4 separate regions of the Homo sapiens genome follow, and all the other regions are linked to region 4. The links are contacts of gene promoters, found by promoter capture Hi-C in blood cells and fetal thymus (Javierre and others, 2016). All regions are on one chromosome and are shown on one strand. The core of a region is centred on a gene start or on the middle of the fragment in contact, and the rest is flanking DNA. Distances in the headings are between cores, read along the strand shown.

The links. Contacts are between HindIII fragments. The CHiCAGO score rates a contact against its expected background, and 5 or more counts as called.
Region 1: the fragment with the promoter of BUB1B here is called in contact with the fragment with the promoter of PLCB2 in region 4 in 1 of 17 cell types (naive CD8 T cells); the score reaches 5.2 in naive CD8 T cells.
Region 2: a fragment that was not itself captured here is called in contact with the fragment with the promoter of PLCB2 in region 4 in 1 of 17 cell types (M2 macrophages); the score reaches 5.2 in M2 macrophages.
Region 3: a contact is called between a fragment that was not itself captured here and the fragment with the promoter of PLCB2 in region 4, in 2 of 17 cell types (M2 macrophages and M0 macrophages). The highest score is 6.4, in M2 macrophages.

What each region holds. Positions count from the first base shown.
Region 1 is chr15:40,159,715-40,162,414 of GRCh38, reverse strand. It overlaps BUB1B (BUB1 mitotic checkpoint serine/threonine kinase B), which reads right to left and starts at 1,346. Exons shown (of 23, transcript NM_001211.6): 1 at 1,160-1,346. The coding sequence starts at 1,194. RefSeq lists enhancers at 191-955, 963-1,092, 1,113-1,212. The HindIII fragment of the contact is 2,113 bases long and covers 438-2,550 here.
Region 2 is chr15:40,497,506-40,500,374 of GRCh38, reverse strand. No RefSeq gene overlaps it. Among named protein-coding and RNA genes, the nearest start is that of CHST14, 28 kb to the right of the region's middle. The HindIII fragment of the contact is 5,436 bases long and covers 1-2,869 here.
Region 3 is chr15:40,095,643-40,098,342 of GRCh38, reverse strand. All of the region lies in intron 4 of BMF (Bcl2 modifying factor), which reads left to right. Among named protein-coding and RNA genes, the nearest start is that of BMF, 12 kb to the left of the region's middle. RefSeq lists a silencer at 158-207 and enhancers at 404-917, 1,591-1,640. The HindIII fragment of the contact is 9,484 bases long and covers 1-2,700 here.
Region 4 is chr15:40,306,447-40,309,387 of GRCh38, reverse strand. PLCB2 (phospholipase C beta 2) reads left to right here and starts at 1,453. Exons shown (of 32, transcript NM_004573.3): 1 at 1,453-1,799. The coding sequence starts at 1,716. The HindIII fragment of the contact is 15,701 bases long and covers 1-2,941 here.

The DNA.
Region 1 (2,700 bases), core at 97-2,596, 150 kb after region 4:
CAAGTCAGATTATGTCTTTCCTTTGCTCAAAACCTTCCAATGACTTTTGATTACAACTAGAGTAAAAGCTAAGTCCTTACAATCTGCATCTTCACCATTTTTACATAATATCCTTTTACTCTTCTAGTTAATTCTGCTCCAGTGACAATGGCCTTGGACATGCCAGGTGCAACTTCCTCCCCTAGCTCTCACCCTCAGCCTTTGTACTCTCCTCAGATATAGAACCTCTAGCTTTTGAGATTCCTTCAAGTCTTGACCAAAGTGACATCTCCTCAGTGAGACTCCAGTGTTCAAGTTAAATTGCACCAATCCCCACCCCCAATATTCACTACACCCAGTTGCTTTATTATTTTTTTTAGTACTGACCACATCTCCACCTAACAGTTTGTCTTTATTGTCTGACTCCCCCACCTTCATCCCATGCCAGAACTTAAGCTTCATGAGGGTTGAGATTTTTGTGTCTGTATATTTGCTGCACTCAGAGCTTAGCCAAAAAAATACTTGTTACATGAATGAAAGAGCCCATGACATAGCACTTATCTAGGTATTGCGGGCACCACAGTGAAAACACATACAGATTTCCAACCTAGAACTGCAATATAGTTTTTTTAATACAAGGAAAAGCCGCAAACATGCAGAAAAAGGCTTTTAGATCTCTATGTTATTGGCATAATTTAGATCTCTATGATATTGGCTAAAGGCTTTCAGATCTCTGTGCTATTGGCATAGCACCTGCCATTTGTTGAGCGCTTATTTGGAAGCAGTTACTTAACAAATACTTTGAATTCCCCCAGAACCACGTAAGGCAGCATTAACATCAGCATTTTCCATACAAACGATTTGCCCAAGGTCAAACAACTAGCAGGTGGCTGAGCTGAGTTACAAACAGACAACATTGCAACTTCCAAACTCTTTGTTCCGCTGGGGTCCCGCAGCCTTCTTCGCTTTGAAGCTGGATGCGGCAGGATTCGCACGTGCCCTCAGTCCACTGCGTTTTCACCTCCACCTCCGGCATTCTACTCCAAAAGGAAGGAGGCTCCGGTGGGGTCTGTTCTGACGGTGCCGATCTCCCCCTCGACTGCTCCGAGCGGAGCCTTCTATTACCTACCAGGCCGTGTCCTCTCAGGCCCAGCCCCCAGCAGCTTTCTCCCGTACCTACCTCAGAGCACCCCCTTCCTTCTTCACCGCCGCCATCCTGCATTCCTGGCTCAGGTCCTCGTCCTGCTGCAGGCCTTTCCTCTGGGCCACAGACCGCCTGGGCTTTCTTCCGCAACCTGCCCTCGGAGCTACAGAAGCGACCAAGGCACGTACACGACTCCCTAACAAACCGGCCACCTCAAGCCCACACCCCTAGCCGCCAAGTTTCAAATTTAACGGTCCCGCGCGGTCGACGTGGCCACGCCCCTCCGCTCCTCCGTGCTCTCGCGTCTCGCCCAAGGCATTCTGGGGCTTGTAGTTTATGCCTGTTTAGTCCGCGAACTCGCGGTGCATAATGGGAATTGTAGTTTTTGGGATTCAATGGCCGTGGAAGTGCAGCAGGCTTAGGCAAAACAAATACCCCCAGGTGCTGTCTTGAGTCGCGGCTCGAAGCCGAGTCTCTGAGCCGAGCGAGGAACACTTAAAGCACCAGAACTTCTTTGCTGTTTTGAGTGTTGGGAGATGTCTCTGAGTGCTTGCACTTGGCGTGACTCTTGTAGGGTGACTACCCCTGCTGTCTGCCCCAAATCTCACCCGTCCGGAGTTCTTAGGCCACTGACCTAGCTGTTTCCTGCCCCACCCTTGAATTCAAAAAGCTGGATTCTAGTTCTGTAAAATCATACCAAATGTGCAACCTTAGGCAAGCTACATAATCTTTCTGACCATCAGTTTTCCTCATCTATAAAGTGATGATACTGTCTTGCTTTCTCTTCTGCTCAGTCCACAAGCAGTAAACACAGCCATGCTATGGTTCCCAAGGTGTTACCTCTTTTCCCCTTCAGGGGACTAGCCTTGACTGACATTAAACTGTTTGTTGCAATTTCAATTTTCTGAGGAAGAAATTGTGATAGCTCAGATGTGACCAGGGGAGTAGAGTCTTTTTGTTTGTTTGGTTGGTTGGTTTTGTTTTAGAGACAGGGTCTTCTTCTTGCTCTGTTGCCCAGGCTGGAGTGCAGTAGCCCCATCATGGGGCTACTGCATTCCAGCCTCCAACTCCCGGGGTCAAGTGATCCTCCCACCTCAGCCTCCGCAGTAGCTGCGATTACAGGCATTAGCCACCTTGAGGAAGGAACAGGGTCATTTAAGAAAGCCCAGGTACAGGGGAGTTCTCCTTTATGACTGTGGGGATGGTCAGAGAGGTGGCACTTCCCAGAGGCAGATGCTGAGGATACTGTCCACTACCCTCTGGTTCTTAGTTCCCAGCTTTCTGTCTTTGTTCATGTTATATAAGTCCTTCTTTCCTCTGAATCATCAGGACTCTTGATTCCAAAGAAGTAGAAATCCAACTTAAATCGGCCTACTCAGAAAAGGGAATTTACTGTCTTTTATATATAAAAGACTTCAGATAAAGCTTAACCCAGGACTCATGTGGACTGGGCCTCTCTCCATTTCTCGCCTCTACTCTTGTTGTTGGCTTATTGTCATTCTCCATTGGGTAACAGATTCACGACTTTATCCTTACAGGTTCAAATTCAGACTTAGGAGTCACCCTGCTTAACCCCT
Region 2 (2,869 bases), core at 259-2,758, 190 kb before region 4:
AGTTTCATTTAATCTTTGCAGAAATATTTTGCCATAGGTATTATTATTCACATTTTGCACATAATGTTTTCACAGAAATAAGGTAAAGACACACAGCCATAATGGAAGAGCAAGGGCTTGAATGCAACTTAGCTGATAACCAGTGTATCCCAAGGTTACGTGGATTGATGTCAAGTCCAACAGAACTAGCTTCAAATCCTGGCTCTGACATTTATTAGCTGTGTTACCTCAGGCACATTTTTTCACTCTGACACATGGTTTCATTATGGAAAATGTTGATAAGAACCCTAATTGGCCAGGTGAGTGGTTCTCATCTGTAATCCCAGGGACTCAGAAGGCTGAAGCAGGAGAATCACTTGTGCCCAGGAGTTTGAGACCGGCCTGGGCAACATAGCAAGACCTGTCTCTACAATAATTTTTAAAAAAAGGCTGGGCGCGGTGGCTCACGCCTGTAATCCCAGCACTTTGGGAGGCTGAGATGGGCGGATCACCTGAGGTCAGGAGTTGGAGACCAGCCTGGCCAACATGGTGAAACCCCGTCTCTACTAAAAATTTAAAAATTAGCCAGGTGTGATGGTGCACGCCTGTAATTCCAGCTTTTTGTGAGGCTGAGACAGGAGAATTGCTTGAACCCAGAAGGTAGAGGTTGCAGTGAGCCGAGATCACACCACTTCACTCCAGCCTGGGTGACAGAGTAAGACTCTGTCTCAGAAAAAAACCCCAAAAAACAAAAAACTTAGCTGGACATGATGACATACACGTGTAGTCCCAGTTACTCGGGAGGCTGAGGTGGGAGGATGATTTGAGCCCAGGAGTTTGAGACCACATGAGCTATCATCACACCACTGCATTCCAGCTTGGGTGACAAAGACCCTGTCTCTAAAAAAGAAAAAAGAGAAAGAAAAAAAAAAACCTCATAGATTACTGTGGGGTTAAATGGGATCATGCATGCAAAGTGCTCAGCACAGCACCTGCCCCTGGCCAGTGCTCCATGGAAGTGAATGGTTATTGCCTTGGCAACAAGACCCTTTCCACCTTCACACGCTGCTTCCCAGGAGCTTCTCCTTCCATTCCACAAGGGTTCTTTCTCACTATGTGCCAAGAACCAATGTACTGGATGATGGTTCTGACTCCAAGTCTAGCCTCATCCTTCGCATCACAACTGCTTTGTTGTCGTTTTTGGTTAACATATTATCATCTGCCAGTAGCATACAGTATGATGACTTGACAAACTACAAAGCAAACCCAGAAATACGTGAAATCAAACCATACAGTCCAATTCTGAGACCCCCTCCAAAGAGCCCCCTCATGACTTTGGGGATTGCAGGAATACGTGCCACTCAGTGCTCAAACTGCCTGCATCCCTTCTTCAAGCCCTCTGCAATCTGCAAAAGTGAAGGGGGGGAAGCAGTATCCCTAAGCAGGGGCTGGGCATCCTCACAGCCTCCTCCCTGCCTGGCACTGGTATCCTCACCTATCTGCAGTGTGGTAACACGACCCTTTTCCCCCAGAGCCAGGTTGCCCGCAAGCCAGTAATGAAGTGTTTTTTACAACCCTGAAAGAAATACTTTAATAAAGCATGTGGTTGGATTATCGAACCCACAAGTATAAAAATATTGTGGTGCTCACACATGCAATGCATGCTGGTTAGTGACTGCCTCCAAAAATGTTTTACTTGCCATCACAGAGAAACGGGTGTATTGAAGATAAATGTTTTTAAAAGACCGACACGTAATGAAGTGAATCATAGTTCATTCACTCCTTCAACAAATACTGAACCCTACCACGGACCAGATGAGCAGCATGCTGGAGATGCAGTGGTAGGCAAGAAAGACAGAACTGCTGCCTTTGATGACCTCACCTTATAGAGGGGGATATAGACATGCATCAAATATAGAATTACAAGCTGTGGTAAGAGCTACAGAGGAGAAGGACACAGTGATCAGGGAGCAAACCACAGAGATCTGATCTGGTCTGCAGGTCAAAGGAGGCTGCCCAGAAAAGTAATGACTGAGCTGAGGGGGCACAGACTATGTAATAGAATGGGGGTCTAGGGGAGAAGCCTCAGCATAGGGGAGTGTCCAGGGATTATGCTAGGGTCACCTCGGGGTCTGGGATAACAGAACTCTCTATCAAAAACGTCTTTTATCCAGAGGCCCACTGGGTGTCTTGGGAAATGGCAGAGAGGATGCTGGGATTCAAGGTTGGGCTCTGGGGGCCAGGCGCAGTGGCTCACGCCTGTAATCCCAGCATTTTGGGAGGCCAAGGCGGGTGGATCACCTGAGGTCAGGAGTTCGAGACCAGCCTGGCCAACATGGTGAAACCCCGTCTCTACTGGAAATACAAAAATTAGCCAGGTGTGGTAGCACACCCCTGAAGTCCCAGCTACTTGTGAGGCTGAGGCAGGAGAATCACTTCAACCTGGGATGTGGAAGTTCCAGTGAGCCGAGATCACACCACTGCACTCCAGCCTGGGTGACAGAGCGAGACTCCGTCTCAAAAAAAAGGTTGGGATCCTAAATAAGAAAGGTAGAAAAATGCTGCCCCAAACTTCTGAGAGAAGCAAGCTGGGTGGGCAGGAACTCGTCCTAAGGTAGGAGAGCGCTGGGCCACATGAACACCATCTGGAAGAACTAGCTGGTGTCTCGTTCACAAGCCAGACTATTCAAGGTCTGGCCCAGACTCAAGAGAGCTGGGCTTGATGTCAGTGGAGAAACCATCCCTCCTCTCACATTAGCAGAGATGGCAGCTGCAGTTGAATGTCATGAGGGCCAGGGTAGTGGCCCTGTCTCTTTTTGGCAGCCAGAGGCCACAGCAGTAAGAAAAGGGCAGCTATACAGAGTGGTAGACATGGCAGAGGCAGGAGCAG
Region 3 (2,700 bases), core at 200-2,699, 210 kb after region 4:
TCCTCCCTCCAGGCTGTGGAGGTGCAAAACAAGGGTCTGGGGACATGGATGGTGCAGCACAGCTCTGTCCCCGAACCGTACCCCTCAACCCCCAGTGGCTGGAGCCAGTGTCTTCCAGTTGCGTTAGAGGAAGCCTTGCCATCTTCCACTGAGAGCTGGCTGGCTTCGGACTGCTCTTTTTTCCTTAGAGAAGCAATGGGCGTGGCCATGGTGGCTTCAATGTCCTGTTAACACTGCTGGCTGGGCTGAGGAAGCTCTTGGCAAGGAGTCTTTTTTTTCCTTTTCCGTTTTGCCACGTTGCTCGTTCCTCGGGCCTCTGGGTCAGAAGCAGTCTGAGGCAGTGGGCCCACTGGGTCCAAGGGGTTGCCCTCTGGGTTTCAGAATCCTTGGCTTACCCTGGCAGCCTAGAATCCTGAGCCCCATGGCCTGTGGCTGCTGTGGGCAGTCTCAAAGCAGAAAGTCAGGGATCTCCCAGGGATTTCGTGAGTCTGCCGGGAAGATGGTGCTCCCCAGGCCGGCCCTGTTGCAGAGCATATTGAGAGACGTGCTCTGCAAAGCCAGTGAGTCCCAGGTTTTCCTTGTGCTCCCCAGGGAAGGAGGAGCCTGCTCCTTGCAGCCCCCAGGCCCAGTGCTTCATGTATATTTTTCTTACGTAATCACCACAGCAACCTTGGACTTTTAGACTCCATTGCCACTGTGTTATAGGAAACTGAGGCTCAGAGAAGTGAGGTAACATGTCCAAGTCACACCGTAATTTGCTGAGCTAGGCGTCATACAGATTTGATGGATTCTGGAACCATGGTCCAATCGCCCCATACCTGCTGCCCAGCAATCACATTCCGGAAAACAAGGGTACAAGGAAGCACACATTTGCTGCCCCAACCCGCTCTGCCTCATGTGATACTCAGCTAGGTGCTCTTGCTCTTCTCCCCATTATATTGTAAAACAATTGAGAACCAAGTTTATAATATTTTAATCATCTTTGTATCCACATAACTCTTAGCTCAGTTGGGTGCTTAGTAGCTCAGTTGGGTGCTTGGTAGCTCAGTTAGGTGCTTGGTAGCTCAGTTGGGTGCTTGGTAGCTCAGGTGTTTGGTAGCTCAGTTAGGTGCTTGGTAGCTCAGTTGGGTGCTTGGTAGCTCAGTTGGGTGCTTGGTAGCTCAGTTGGGTGCTTGATAGCTCAGTTGGGTGCTTCATTAAAATGTCCTTATTTCAACAGAAAACATCTTCCTAGCTTCCTTCAAGCAGGAATTTTCCTGCTCTCAATGTTCCTGTTCTTAATTGCAAGGCTCTTTCTTTCAGCCTTGGCCTGAGTAGGTTTAGAGAATGACAGGGAAAAGGGAAGAGGGAGGAAAACTTCACATCGTGGACTGTGCACCTTCCCCTAGAGTATAGACAATTCTGCATTTTGAAGAGATTGAGTGTGGTTTCAGATCACAGTCTGAAGTTATAATTTCAGACCAGTTTTAGCTTTATTTCTGTTTGATCTTCAGTTAGCTCTGCCTCTGAAAGGGTTATTTTTTTCTGGTCCACAGCGTCCTTACTAAATAGTTAATGATCTGGAAACAATGTCTTTAAGCATACTAGGGGAGCAGATCAGTGGTGATTTGCTTTGAAAAAGGTAATGCTATTTTCATAATGTCAATAAACACACTGTAAAATTTTAGTGAAGGAACATAGCTTTGGAGTCAGAAGTCAGGGCCTCAAATTACACCCCTCCCAACTAACTTGGGATGACTTTTCTGAGCCATTGTTTCCGTCGCTCTAAAATGGGTTGATTAATACCTGCTCTTCCTATCGTGAGGATCACATGAGAAGAAAGGAAAGTGCTCTGTTCTGTATCTGAGATATTATAAGTTGCTCTCTGTTTGGTAAATTTGCATTTTGTGAGTTAGGTTCTTTTAGAGCTGCACACGGCTTCGCTTTGCTTCTTCCTCTGATACTTTGGGGTGAATTAGCTCTAGCTGGAGCATCTGGAACACTGGTGACACACAGAGCCCCCAGAGGGTATGAATTGGATCTGAAAAGGGGAGAGGCAGAGGGAGATTCTTATCCAGGGAGCGTAGGGAACACGCTTTGTGCTTAGGGCAGAGGCTGTGTGGGATGAAACAGAGTTTGATTTATGTAATCCAACCTTGTCAGACACCACAGCCAGCTCTTTAGAGAAAAAAAAAAAAAAAAAAAAAAAAGGAGGCCTTTTACTAGTTGGGCCTCTCCCCAGGTGTGAGGCTGATACTATCACATAAAGTACATCTTTAGACCTGGCCAGACATCAGTTGTTCCTGGCCTCAGACAAGTGGGTTATCTTTCAGGGCTGACTCCTCTGTAGTCGGTCCAGCATGCCCTTGTTGAGTGCCTACTGTATGCCTTCCATGTTCCCCATTACACAGGATGAGCAGCTGTGCATTCAGGCATAGGGTGTTGCACACAGTAGGGATTGAAACATTTGTCAGCTGACTGCCTTCATCCCCTGTCCGTGGCAAGAAAATGAGGCTGGGCCAAAGAAGCCGCATGGGGCTCTGATGCCTGCTTGTGCTCTCTTCATTGAAGAGAACACCGTGATCTACCATGTTAGGGCACCTTCCCTGGGGGCATTCACCTCTATTCATTCCCTCCATTCCTTGGCCCTGCCTTCTAAACCATGTGAGTCCGAGGGCTCTAGGGTGAGCTTCCCCTCCTCTGTATCCCAGCCCCGACCCT
Region 4 (2,941 bases), core at 204-2,703:
CTTGGTCAGGCCCTGCTCCGGCTCCATCCCCCGGCCCTAGAATTGCTCTTCTGCAGATTATTTCTGTGCTGGGAATTCCCTTAGCTCCAGCCTCCACTGGGCAGTTTATTATCTTAATTCCGCATGAAGAGTGTCCTCCCTCACCCTCCACCCTGCCCTGGACCAGACCTCCAGCCGCGACAATTCTAGGGCCTGGGTGAGGGTCTTACCGTTGTTGGGGGTATGCAAAGCCCCATGGGGGGGTGACCCAGGGCAAAAGGCCAGGCCCCAGAGGGGAAGGAAGTCTTGGGTAGAGCTCCCTGCCTCCCAGGCTGGGCTAAGAAGGGCGATAAGAGGAGCAGATTAGGCAAGAGGAAGTGGGCTGGGCTGAGCTGGACTGGTGCTGAACTCCCTGGGCCTGGGGCAGAGTGTGGGTCAGGCACCTGAGCAGCTGGGGCTGAGCCTGGCCAACCAGAGCAGCCATCCCTCCGCCCCAGCCCCGCTGCAGGCTGGGGTACACAGCAGAGGCGGGCACACGGAGGAGAGAGGAGAGCGCAGTGGAGGCAGGGGCTAGGGCTGCTCAGTGGGGGTCCAGGCCTCAGGCAGTCCCAGAGGCCCAGAGGTGGGAGTCTGGTGAGGTGGGTGAGGGGAGTGATTGCCTTGCCTCATGTGCCCCTCATTTTCTTTCTTTTTTTATTTTTTTCGAGATGGAGTCTTGCTCTGTCGCCCAGGCTGGAGTGCAGTGGCGCCATCTCGGCTCATTGCAAGCTCCGCCTCCTGGGTTCATGCCATTCTCCTGCCTCAGCCTCCCGAGTAGCTGGGACTACAGGCGCCGCTGCCACGCCCAGCTAATTTTTTGCATTTTTAGTAGAGACAGGGTTTCACCGTGTTAGCCAGGATGGTCTCGATCTCCTGACCTCGTGATCCGCCCGCCTCGGCCTCCCAAAGTGCTAGGATTACAGGCGTGAGCCACCGCACCCGCCCGCCCGGCAGGTGCACCTCATTTTCATGGGGGAGGAAGCATTGAGAAAGAGGAGCCGTGTGTTCAGCAAACTTTGCTTATTCAAAACACTCCATTCCAGCTGGGCCCTGTCCCCACCCCACCCCTGCCTCTACGGTGCTCCCAACCTTTGGGGTCAGATGCCCATGCTCTGGACCCTTCCCCTGAGGAGGTCCTTTCTCCTAGTGAGCTCCCTGTGCCTTCCCTCAGTCCAGGCCTGGGCAGCAGTCTCCCCAGCTGGTCTCCATGTCGTCCTTCTCCAGCCCTCCTGGGCCAAATCTGACCAGAGACCACCACAGGGACTGAGAGGCCCTGGCTCCAAGGCGACCCGGCCTCATGACCACGTCTCCGCTGTGAGCAGCGCAGAGAAGGAAGCCCAGAGCAGGAAGTGCTGAGAGGCACAGGGTGGGGCTGGGGGTGGGGGCGGGGGCCTCCAGAAGAGGCGGGGGCTTCCTGCTTCAGCCTCCTTGGGCAGAAGCAGTGACCACAGGCCCCCATGGCAGGCAGGGCGGGTGGGAGGAGGGTGATTTACAAGGCAGATGGGCCTCTGGCTACAGCTCAGTCCTGCACTCAGCCAGGGCCACCCCAGGGGCTATAAGAGCAACTAGATTTCTGGAGCAGCTCGGGGATGGGTGCCATTTGAGCCCAGCTTGGCTCCCCCTCCTGGCTGGCCTCCTTCCTGCCCTTCTGCCTGCCTGTGTCTGCTGAGATTCTGCAAAGAGGAACGCTTGGCACCATGTCTCTGCTCAACCCTGTCCTGCTGCCCCCCAAGGTGAAGGCCTATCTGAGCCAAGGGGAGCGCTTCATCAAATGGGATGATGTAAGTGGGGCAGGGGCCTCAGCTGCTGGAGCACCAGGTGGTGGGGGCCGGGCTGCTACGGGGCTTTGCTTGGGTGGGAGGATTGGTTTATGTCTCCTAGGATCCAGGCGCCTGTGTGGTTTGGCCAGGCAGCTGACACCACTGCTTGGATAAACAAACCTGGGATTAAGGGTGTATGTCCCCAGCTAAAGGGCTAAGCCTTGGTTCTAGGTGTGAGAAGTGGGTGAGCTGCCTGGGTGGTCACTGGAGGTAGTTTATTTGGGTCTGCTTCTCTTCTCCTTCAAACCCCCAAGAGAAGAGGAGGAAAGTGCACCCCAGAGCTGAGGCAGGCTAGGAGGAGAGGTGAGCTCGTCCCCGCTCCCAGCACAGATGTCTTGCCCTTGCTCCGGCAGGGCGCTCAGACCCAGCTCCTTCACCCCCTCCACTGGGCATCATCCTGTCCAGGGAAGCCTTGCTCTCCCCTGCGCTGCTGTGGGGGCAGCCACAAAAGGCCCCTGGACCTAAGTGAGAACTAGAGGCTTCTGCTCCCAGGGAAGGAGCTGATTTGACTTCTGCTACCCCTTGCTGGGCTCAGCATTGCTCCCCGATGCAGGCCTGTCAGCAAGGGAAGGGGAAGACACTGCTGCACCCTGCAGCCCTCTCTCTGCTGTGTCTGTTCCTTCCTACACGGGGCTGCTCCCAGGCTCTGGTTCTCCTGGCCCCTGAAAATGTTACCTTAGGCCAGGGATTCTCTTAGGCTGGAGAGAACAATATGGAGATTCTCCTTCAGGGAGGGGAGGCTGCTGGGCTCGCCCAGTCTGAGAGTTAGAGTGCTGGGCTTGTCCCAGGAAGGGAAATGAAGGCTTGGTGGGGGAGGGAAGACAGCCCTTAGTGCTGACTTGTCCACCTGATGGGAGGTGGGATGAGGGGGTCTGGGTCTAGGCCCTTCGGGGCTGGGCTAGGCTAGGGGATCTCGCTGCCCATGACTATGGGTTGGGGCCCTGTGGTGAGATGCTTCCTGCTTCCCTAGGAGTGATGTGGGGTTGGTGTAGCATGGCAGTGGCATGGAGGTGACATGCCCCAGGAGCCTGTGGAATGAGGGAAGTGGCTCAGAATGAAAAGCGAAGTGGCCTCTCTCAGTTCCTCTGGGCAGTGTGTGTAAC